2 separate regions of the Homo sapiens genome follow, and region 1 is linked to region 2. Evidence: promoter capture Hi-C in human tissues and cell types (Jung and others, 2019). All regions are on one chromosome and are shown on one strand. Each heading gives the region's core, a stretch centred on a gene start or on the middle of the fragment in contact. The rest is flanking DNA. Distances are from core to core; before and after follow the strand shown. Region 1 overlaps SGPL1 (sphingosine-1-phosphate lyase 1). Region 2 holds the start of PRF1 (perforin 1).

Evidence for each region. The method cuts DNA at HindIII sites, captures the fragments that hold promoters and counts their contacts. A contact is called where the count stands out against the background at its distance.
Region 1: a fragment that was not itself captured here is called in contact with the fragment with the promoter of PRF1 in region 2 in 4 of the 25 tissues and cell types used here (H1 embryonic stem cells, IMR-90 fibroblasts, hippocampus and 1 more).

The regions. Positions count from the first base shown.
Region 1 is chr10:70,863,439-70,867,892 of GRCh38, forward strand. All of the region lies in intron 7 of SGPL1 (sphingosine-1-phosphate lyase 1), which reads left to right. Among named protein-coding and RNA genes, the nearest start is that of PCBD1, 23 kb to the right of the region's middle. The HindIII fragment of the contact is 9,380 bases long and covers 1-4,454 here.
Region 2 is chr10:70,601,343-70,605,403 of GRCh38, forward strand. PRF1 (perforin 1) reads right to left here and starts at 1,399. Exons shown (of 3, transcript NM_001083116.3): 1 at 1,303-1,399. The HindIII fragment of the contact is 18,183 bases long and covers 1-4,061 here.

The DNA of each region.
Region 1 (4,454 bases), core at 818-3,317, 260 kb after region 2:
GCTGGCTTCAGTCATGGTTCCTTGTTTCCTTATATTTGTGATTTTATTTTATTTATTTATTTTTTTATGAGCCACTCATTTTTCTGGGAACCTAGGGATTCTTTGAGGCCTAGATTGAAGTTAAGTCTGGAAGTTCTCTTCTTCCAGAGAAGATTTGTCATACCTTTTTGAGTTGCTGGGGATTGCCACCACACTGGAACCAAATTAAGTCAAATCCTTAGCTTGTCATTTTGTACCACAGAGGTAGTGTGAATTCTGACCACAAACTCACATAAAGGCTTCCTTGTTACACATTCTTGAAAGATTGCTATTTTTCTTTACTTGAACATCAGGGTTGAGAAAAACAGTTTTTCTTTTCTCTTTTGCAGTAGTGGGATTTATTTCTTGTACACTGTAGAGTGTGGTCTTTTTCCAGCCATCTCCTGTTGGACTCCTTATCTTGGGCAGTCTCTAATGTATCTTCTGGTCCATCCTTTGCTCATCTGTCAGTGTAGGAGTTTGAAGTCTGAAGGGTCTGGTGCCACCTCAGGGTGAAAGCTAGTTTTGCCACTCACTTATCTTGCAGGATTCTTGATTTTGCTTTGTTTGGGGGTTTAGCAAGTTTCTTTATGTTAGGTTAGTGATAGGTTTAAATTTTTTTTTTTTGATGTTTTATCAAGTTTTTTAGTTATTTCAGTTAGGAAGGTTGCTCAAGGTATATAATATTGCTAGAAATAGAAGTTCCATAATTGTTTTTTCCATGTTACAGACCTTCGTCTATTTGAAAGCCCCTTTCTCCCTGAATCTTCTCTGCCCCACATTTTTCTGGGTTACTCCGCTTTTCATATGATTTCACAGACTTCCAACCATCGCAGTCATTCTCTGTATGACTTTTGGTTGCCTCTGGCCAGATTGAACACAGTTCTCCACATTTGGAGTGGCATTGATCTTTCAATCTCTGTCTTTTTTAAATCTGGGTTCAATAAACTTATTTCAGACCTTTTCCTTGAAGTCAGCATTTTTATTCTTGGCAATGTTTATTTTATTCCTTGCTGTTCCTAATGTCTTTGTTAGTTCTGTATGGATGCTACTGGCTTTGTTTTTTTAGGTCTGTAGCTCATTCTTTTTGTTTCATGGTCTAGGTTTTGAACTCTTTGTTTTCTTAAATTCATGTTCTTATGATATTTTCCTATAGTGAGAAAGTTATAAGGGGTTTCCTTCATCCCTTAGCTTGTTTCCTTCTGTGTTGGGTTTTTATTTTGCATGCTACATACTACCTTTTCCCCTGCCTTTTAGTTTGTTTGCATAGTTTCCTTGCCATTTTCTCTCATCTTGGGGTGGCATTCTCCAGACATTGTTCTTATGCACTGTGGGTGCTTCCTGTCTGAGACCATTTGGCTGGGGACAAAGCTCAGCCAAAGCTTTGTTCTATCTGTATTAGAATAACCAGGTCTATTCTGAGATTCTCTTCAAAGTTACCTATCAGAGTTCACTCTCTTATTTGGAAGAGATAATATACCCTTTGAGCTCTGATTATTTAATTCACTGAAGTCTTCACTCTAAAGAGCCAATCCTGATGTTCTCTCTTCATTTTGCTCATTTCTCCCTAGCAGCCATGTTTACCACTCACTCATGAGAAGAAGAAGAAAATAAGGAAACCCCCTCAGCTTGCCTCTGCAGATTTGGGGGTATAAAGGAAAATTCTCAGGATTTTGCTGACTTTGCGGTACAGTTTCAAGGGCTGATTAGAAACTAGTGTTTTGCTTACTTCTGCTCTCTGCTGTTTCACTGTTTCTTTTTTTTTTTTGATTGCCAATATTTGAAGTTTATTGCCTAGATTATCTCTCTTTCCTTGTTTGGTTGTTGTTATTGTAGATTTTGACTCTTTTCTCTCCCTGCACTCACCCTTTTTTTTTTTCTTCCCATCTTACTCCTGAAGTCCAGGCCTAGGGGTTTTTTGCATTGCTGCAATTAAACCATATCTCTATTATTTTGATCTTCAGCACGTGTGAGGGATCAGAAGAAGGATAGAGTCTGATTCCCAGGCTCTTCTAATATTTAGACTTTTATAAAATAACTAATCAGCACTGGTATTGTCTTTTTCCCTCTCCCACTCTGTCTCCCCCACTCCTCCCTTAGCTTCTTACTTCTCTCTCTGGATGAGCTGCTTCTAGTGAAGAAAGAGTTCACTGTTCAGAGGTGGGAAGCCAGAAGATAAAACCAAATGGCTGGGCAGTCTTTAGGTTATTCCTAGCTAAGAGTTAAGAGTTGTAAGCTCTCTCATTCTTTGTTCTTCAGCCTTAAACTATCTTTCCTTCTATTAACTTTATTTGTCTCAGTTACAATGATAGAGGTAACTTCACATACTAAAAGAAATTAGGTTACCATGTGAAACATTCTTCTTGGCTTGTGCTAATGTTATCAGATCCAAACAGCATCTGAAAGAAAATTTTCCAAGTAGATGTTGTTCTCTTGTTTTCTGAAATACATATCATATGTTAAAGTGAGAGTTTTTATACATGTTGAAAGAAGTTGAATGACATAACAAATAGTTACTGAGGCCTCCATTTTCTTACTTCACAGTTAAAATTCCTGTTTCTCTTTGGGTATAGGAGGTAGAAAGAAGTGGGAGAGTAATAGCATTTTAAAACACAGAATCAAAAATACATATTAAAAGTAGAACTTAGGCCCAGGCACAGTGACTCACGCCTGTAGTCCCAGCACCATGGGAGGCTGAGGCAAGTGGATCGCTCGAGCCCAGGAATTCGAGACCAGCCTGGGCAACTAGGTGAAACCCTGTCTCTACAAAAAATACAAAAGTTAGCCAGGCATGGTGGGGTGTGCCTGTAGTCCCAGCTACTTTGGGGGATGAGGTGGGAGGATCTCTTAGGCCTGGGAGGTGGAGATTGCAGTGAGCCGAGATCACGCCATGGCACTCCAGTCTAGGTGAAAGATTGAGACCCCATCTCAAAAAAAAACAAAAAAGAAAAAAGTAGAATTTAGGTATTCCTACTTTTACAGTCAAAAGTCCACTGGTGTTTGCATAACAATGATGTTTTGACTAGTTATTGGACTAAAAGTAGGACACATGAAGCAGGTGACTAGGAATTTGGAAATATTATTGCTTAGGTCATTACTGGACCTTACGAAGAGATTGTTGCACTGGTGACTTGGACTTTGCTGGTCCCTCCCCGACTCTTCACAGCTGGCTTGACGACTCTTGTGACATTCTGAGGTTTTATGCTAAACCACAGGACATGCTGCTGATTTGCAGAGCTGACCTCAGCTGTAAGCACTTTGTCTTCTGCAGCGTAGAAATGTAGTGACCTACAAGTGTCCCATGCCCAAGTTGGGTGCATTATTTTTTGGTGATGGTCACATGTTTCATAAAGACTTCCTGAGTCAAAAAATGACTTTTCTCAGTTCATCTTCCATATAACTCCTGGCCACAGGGATTTTGTATCCAATGGTATTTTTGTTCTATGTGTGGATATTATTTTAGCAAAGTTCAGTGGTCACTTTCTCTGATTCCATCTTGTATTAAGCTACACTAAATATGAAAACGTAGAAAGTTTTACTTCTTATCAACAGATGCTAATGTATGACATTGAGTGAAACACTTTAATTCCTCAAGGGCTCAGTTTTCTCACCTGTAAATTGAAAAAACCTTTCAAAGATTGTATGAATCTTCAGAGATGGTAAGTCTAAGAAGTTGTCCAACTAGTTTAGTATTGTGGCTTTTTGTTTGTTTTGGAATGATTCATTCTCATATATTATTTTTTAAAAAAATAGCCAGGTGGCTATGACATGCCTGTGTTGGTCAAGGTTTACTGAGAGTCAAGTCAGGCATTAAGAAATGTGAAGGCCAGGTGCAGTGGCTCACACCTGTAATCCCAGCTCTTTGGGAGGCTGAGGTGGGCAGATCACTTGAGGCCAGGAGCTTGAGACCAGCCTGGCCAACATGGTGAAACCCCGTCTCTGCTAAAAATACAAAAATTAGGTGGGCATGGTGGTGGGCGCCTGTAATCCGAGCTACTCGGGTAACTATGGCAGGAGAATCGCTTGAACCAGGAGGCAAAGGCTGCAGTGAGCCGAGATCATGCCATGGCACTCCAGCCTGGGCAACAGAGTGAGACTCTGTCTCAAAAAAAAAAAAAAAATGGATTGAGGGTTTGTTAGGTGTCAGCCACTATGTCAGGTGCTAGGAATTTGTCATGAACAGACTGGTCCCTACTTTCATGAATTTATAGTCCAGTGAGGGAAATAAGATGAATAAAAAGACCCCTACGTCTTTTTGTTTGAACTCTGGTAAAGAAATGTGTTTATCAGAGGGGCTAGGCCAAACTTTAGGAAAACATTTCACTTCACTTAAAAAAAATTAGGATTTTTGTTTTATTTCAGATAAGGCAACAAACTTCCATCAAGTAGAAACTTCTGCTTTTCTCTGTCTTTCAAACTTGTCAAAATCAGCAGTT
Region 2 (4,061 bases), core at 149-2,648:
CCTTTGCCCACCCTGACTCTCACTCTGTTTCTTTGTCTCTGTCACTCTCTCTAACCTCTCTCCCTCCCACTGAGCCCTTAACAGAATTGGAAGAGAAATGAGGTCCTATATTGCACCTATTCTTCTCATTTTCCCTTTGGGGCTCTCCCTCTGAGCTTTATGGAATAACATCAGCCCGAATTCTAGAATAAAATCTGCCGACCTGGCCAGGTGTGGTGGCTCACACCTGTAAACCGAACACTGTGGGAGGCAGAGGCAGGTGGATCACTGGAGGTCAGAAGTTCGAGACCAGCCTGGCCAACGTGGTGAAACCCCCTCTTTACTAAAAATACAAAAATTAGCTGGGCATGGTGGCGGGTGCCTGTAATCCCAGCTACTTGGGAGGCTGAGACAGGAGAATCGCTTGAACCCAGGAGGCGGAGGTTGCAGTGAGCCAAGATCGTACCACTGCACTCCCGCCTGGGTGATAGAGTAAGACTCTGCCTCAAAAAAAAAAAAAAAAAGGGGCAGACCTGACCACACCCTTGGATTTTGTGTGGGGAGAGGCCTCGATGGTTGCTCTTCAGATCCTTTCTTGCTGCCCCTCCCCTCTTTGCCACTCCCTGCCAAGCTCTGTGGCCTTCGGCAGTGACAGGGGCCCCCCTATTGCCTACTATGGACAATGATTGTCTGGAAGGTTCTTCCTAATTTTAAGGTGTTTCTGGGGCCTTGCCTGGGCCTGTTTATGATCTGGAACCTCCTTTCTCTAACCTTACCCAAGCCTAACCTTATCCAAGCTGAGCTCTTCAAAGGCCTTTGCCCTTGGGTACCACAGGTTCTGAGACAAGAGGGCTATGGAGAGCCCCCATTATAGCTGGAGCCTCCTGCCCTGCCCAAAGGTGTGACTTGAAGGGTGGAATTTCAGGCAGCGTGGCTCGCCCCAGGGAGGCAAAGAGGCCAGGGGAATCTTCAAAGGCCCTGGGCTCATCCCAGCTAGGAGGCGGGCACAGTCATAACCCTAATCCAGTGAACTCAGCCCTCATCCTGACTCTCATGGTATTCTGTCCCAGGGAGCCTCTTTCCAGCTTTCTTAGAAGCTTTAATGTCAGCACTTGCAGGGCCTTAGAAACTGCACGCTACCTCTTCATTTCATACATGAGGAAACTGAGGCCCAGGGTGGACACAGGGCTGCCCAGCGAGTTAGTGATGGGCACCGTCTGTGACCCAGGTGTCTTGTCTTATAGGTCACAGCACTTCCTGCTCCATCAGCCTCTTCCCCTCCACCCAGGGCCCCAGGCCCCCCAATCCCTGCTCTCTCCTTACCTGGAATCCCGTATAGAGAAGCGGCTACACAGATGGATATCCTCTCTTCACCGAGGCTCCTGGAATGGTGGCATCAGCCCCCCAGGCAGCCCACTGTGGCTCCTTGCACCAGCCACCACTCACATCACTTCTACTTCCTGCCCCGCCCCCAGCTGTGGTCACAGGTCCTTTGTGCTCTCCCCTCCCACAAGCACCCACCCTGTCCTCAGCCCTCATCCGGCTCCCCACTGACAGCCCTCAGGAAGCGAGCAGCAGGGCCAGAGGCTCATCTGCCGAGTAGAGCTGCTGGGGCTCGGGGACTCAGGGCACACAGGCGGAGGAGGGCGGGGCGCTGAGGACTTTGAGACTCGGCCCTGGTGTTGATGAACAGGCCAGCAGGGCCATCTCCTTGCTTCTGATGCACAGCATCGCATGTGTGGGATGTAAGAGGCAAGCAGAGGCGGCGGCTCAGAGCATGGGCCTACACGCCAGACCGCCGGGGCTTGGGCAGCTCGGTTATGCACCAGCAGTGTGGACTGGTAGGGTTCTTCAGCCTCACTGTGCCTCAGTTTCTTCACTGAACAATTGGGATTGTAGGTCATGTAGACCCTAGGGGTTGTTGTGAAGTGCTTGGAACTGTGCCTGGCCCTTCTTGAGTGTCAGAGCCTGTGGCCATTCCCTCCTCCCTGAGTGGGAGAAGAGAGATGTTGCTCTAATCTTGCCATCCACTTCCTGCTCAACCTACATCCCACCCTAGCCCAGGCTCCGAACTCCAAGCATGTTCCTCGAACAGGGGCTCCTGCTCCTCGCTTTGTGAGGACAGCCAGTGGCCTCCACGCTGGCTCCAGCCCTGCTGAGGTCGTGGGTGCTGGTGAGAGTGGTCTGGTAGCACCGGAGGACATGTCTTCTGCACTCTGCCTTGCTTGAGGTCAGGGTGGGGTGAGGTTTCCATGGGTGGAGTGACTCACAGGGCACTGGGGGGCAAAATCACACGGCTTCTGGGGTGGGGGCAGCTGGGTAAGGGAGGAGGTGGTTCTCACAACTTGTTCTCATAACTGTGTATATGATGGGAAGAAGTGGCCGCAGGCTCCAGACCACATGTGACATCATGTCTCATGGGTCACACTTTGGGGCTCATCCCTTGCGTTTATGTCCCTGCTTCCGTCCCTGCTCTTACAGGAACAGGGGCTTATGCTGTCTTCTCGGAATCTGGCCCCATCTTCTCTCCGCAGTGTCCCCACCCTCTTCTAGAAACTGCAGCCTCCTGATCACTTTCCAGCTGTCACCCATGGCCTGACTTGGATGCTGAGGCTGTGAGGAGTTTCTTTCCTGACCATGACAGGAAGGCCGGTTTGAGGGACATAGAAGTCCTGCAAAGTATCTGCGGGAAAAGAGAGGCAAAGTCTAAACAGGTTCTGATCCCAGCTTCACCAGAAACTTACCGTATGCCTCACGGCGATAGATATCAACCCCCTTTCTGAGCGTTAGTTTCCTCACCTATAAAATCAAAGAGAGGACTTTGGAATTCTACACATCCTTCCAGCTAATGATAAAATGTACACTTGGCAGGTTTCAAGTGGCTTATGAAGTGGCTAATGCCCAAGAGATGCTAGTGGTTGTTAGGGGATCCATTAAAGAGCCGAAATGACATTGAGGGTGATGACTGTTTTTGACTCGTTTAACTGATGACAGCTGTCCTTCTGAAACTTGACACTTGAATGTGCATTAAGCAGAGTTTTTCCTCAGAGACACAAGTTTCAACAAGTGCGTAATTTGTTCAATCACCAGACACCATGTATATGGTTTTCTTTAGTAACAACAATCTTTAGATGTAATTCACATACCATATAATTCACCCATTTCAAGTATATGATTCAATGGCTTTAGTATGTTCACAGAGTTGTACAGCCACCGCTACAGTCAATTTTAGAACATCTTCATCACTTTCCAGAAATAAAACCTATACCCACTGGTGGTCATTTCTCATTTCTTTTTCTTTTTCTTTTTCTTTTTTTTTTTTTTTTTGAGATGAAGTCTTGATTTGTCACCCAGACTGGAGTGCAGTGGCATGATCTCGGCTTACTGCAACCTCTGCCTCCCAGGTTCAAGCGATTCTCCCACCTCAGCCTCCCCAGTAGCTGGGACTACAGGCATGCGCTACCACGCCTGGCTAATTTTTTTTTTTTTTTTTTGTATTTTTAGTAGAGACGGGGTTTCACCATGATGGCCAGGCTGGTCTTGAACTCCTGATCTGCAAGTGATCAGCCCACCTTGGCCTCCCAAAGTGCTGGGATTACAGGCGTGAGCCACCGTGCCTGGCCATTTCTCATTTCTTCATAACGCTAATCTACTTTATCTCTCTGTTAATTTTCCCATTTTCGACAATTCATATAAAAAGAATCATAGCATATGTGGCCTTTTGTGTCTGGCTTGTTTCATTTAACATAATACTTTCAAGGTTCATCCATGTTGTAGCATGTATCAGTACTTTAGTCCATTTCATGGCTGAATAATATTATATTATATGGACATATCACAATTTGTTTACCCATTCATAACTGATGGATTTATTGGTTGTTTCTACTTTTTAGCTGTTATGAATAATGCTGTTATGAACATTTGTGTACAGGTTACTGTGTGGACATATGTTTCCATTTCTCCTGAGTATATATCTAGGAGTGGACTTGCTGGGACATGTGGTAACTATAGGTTTAACTTTTTGAGGAAGTGTTTTCCAACGTGATTGCATTGTTTTGCATTTCTCCAGCAGCTTATGAGAG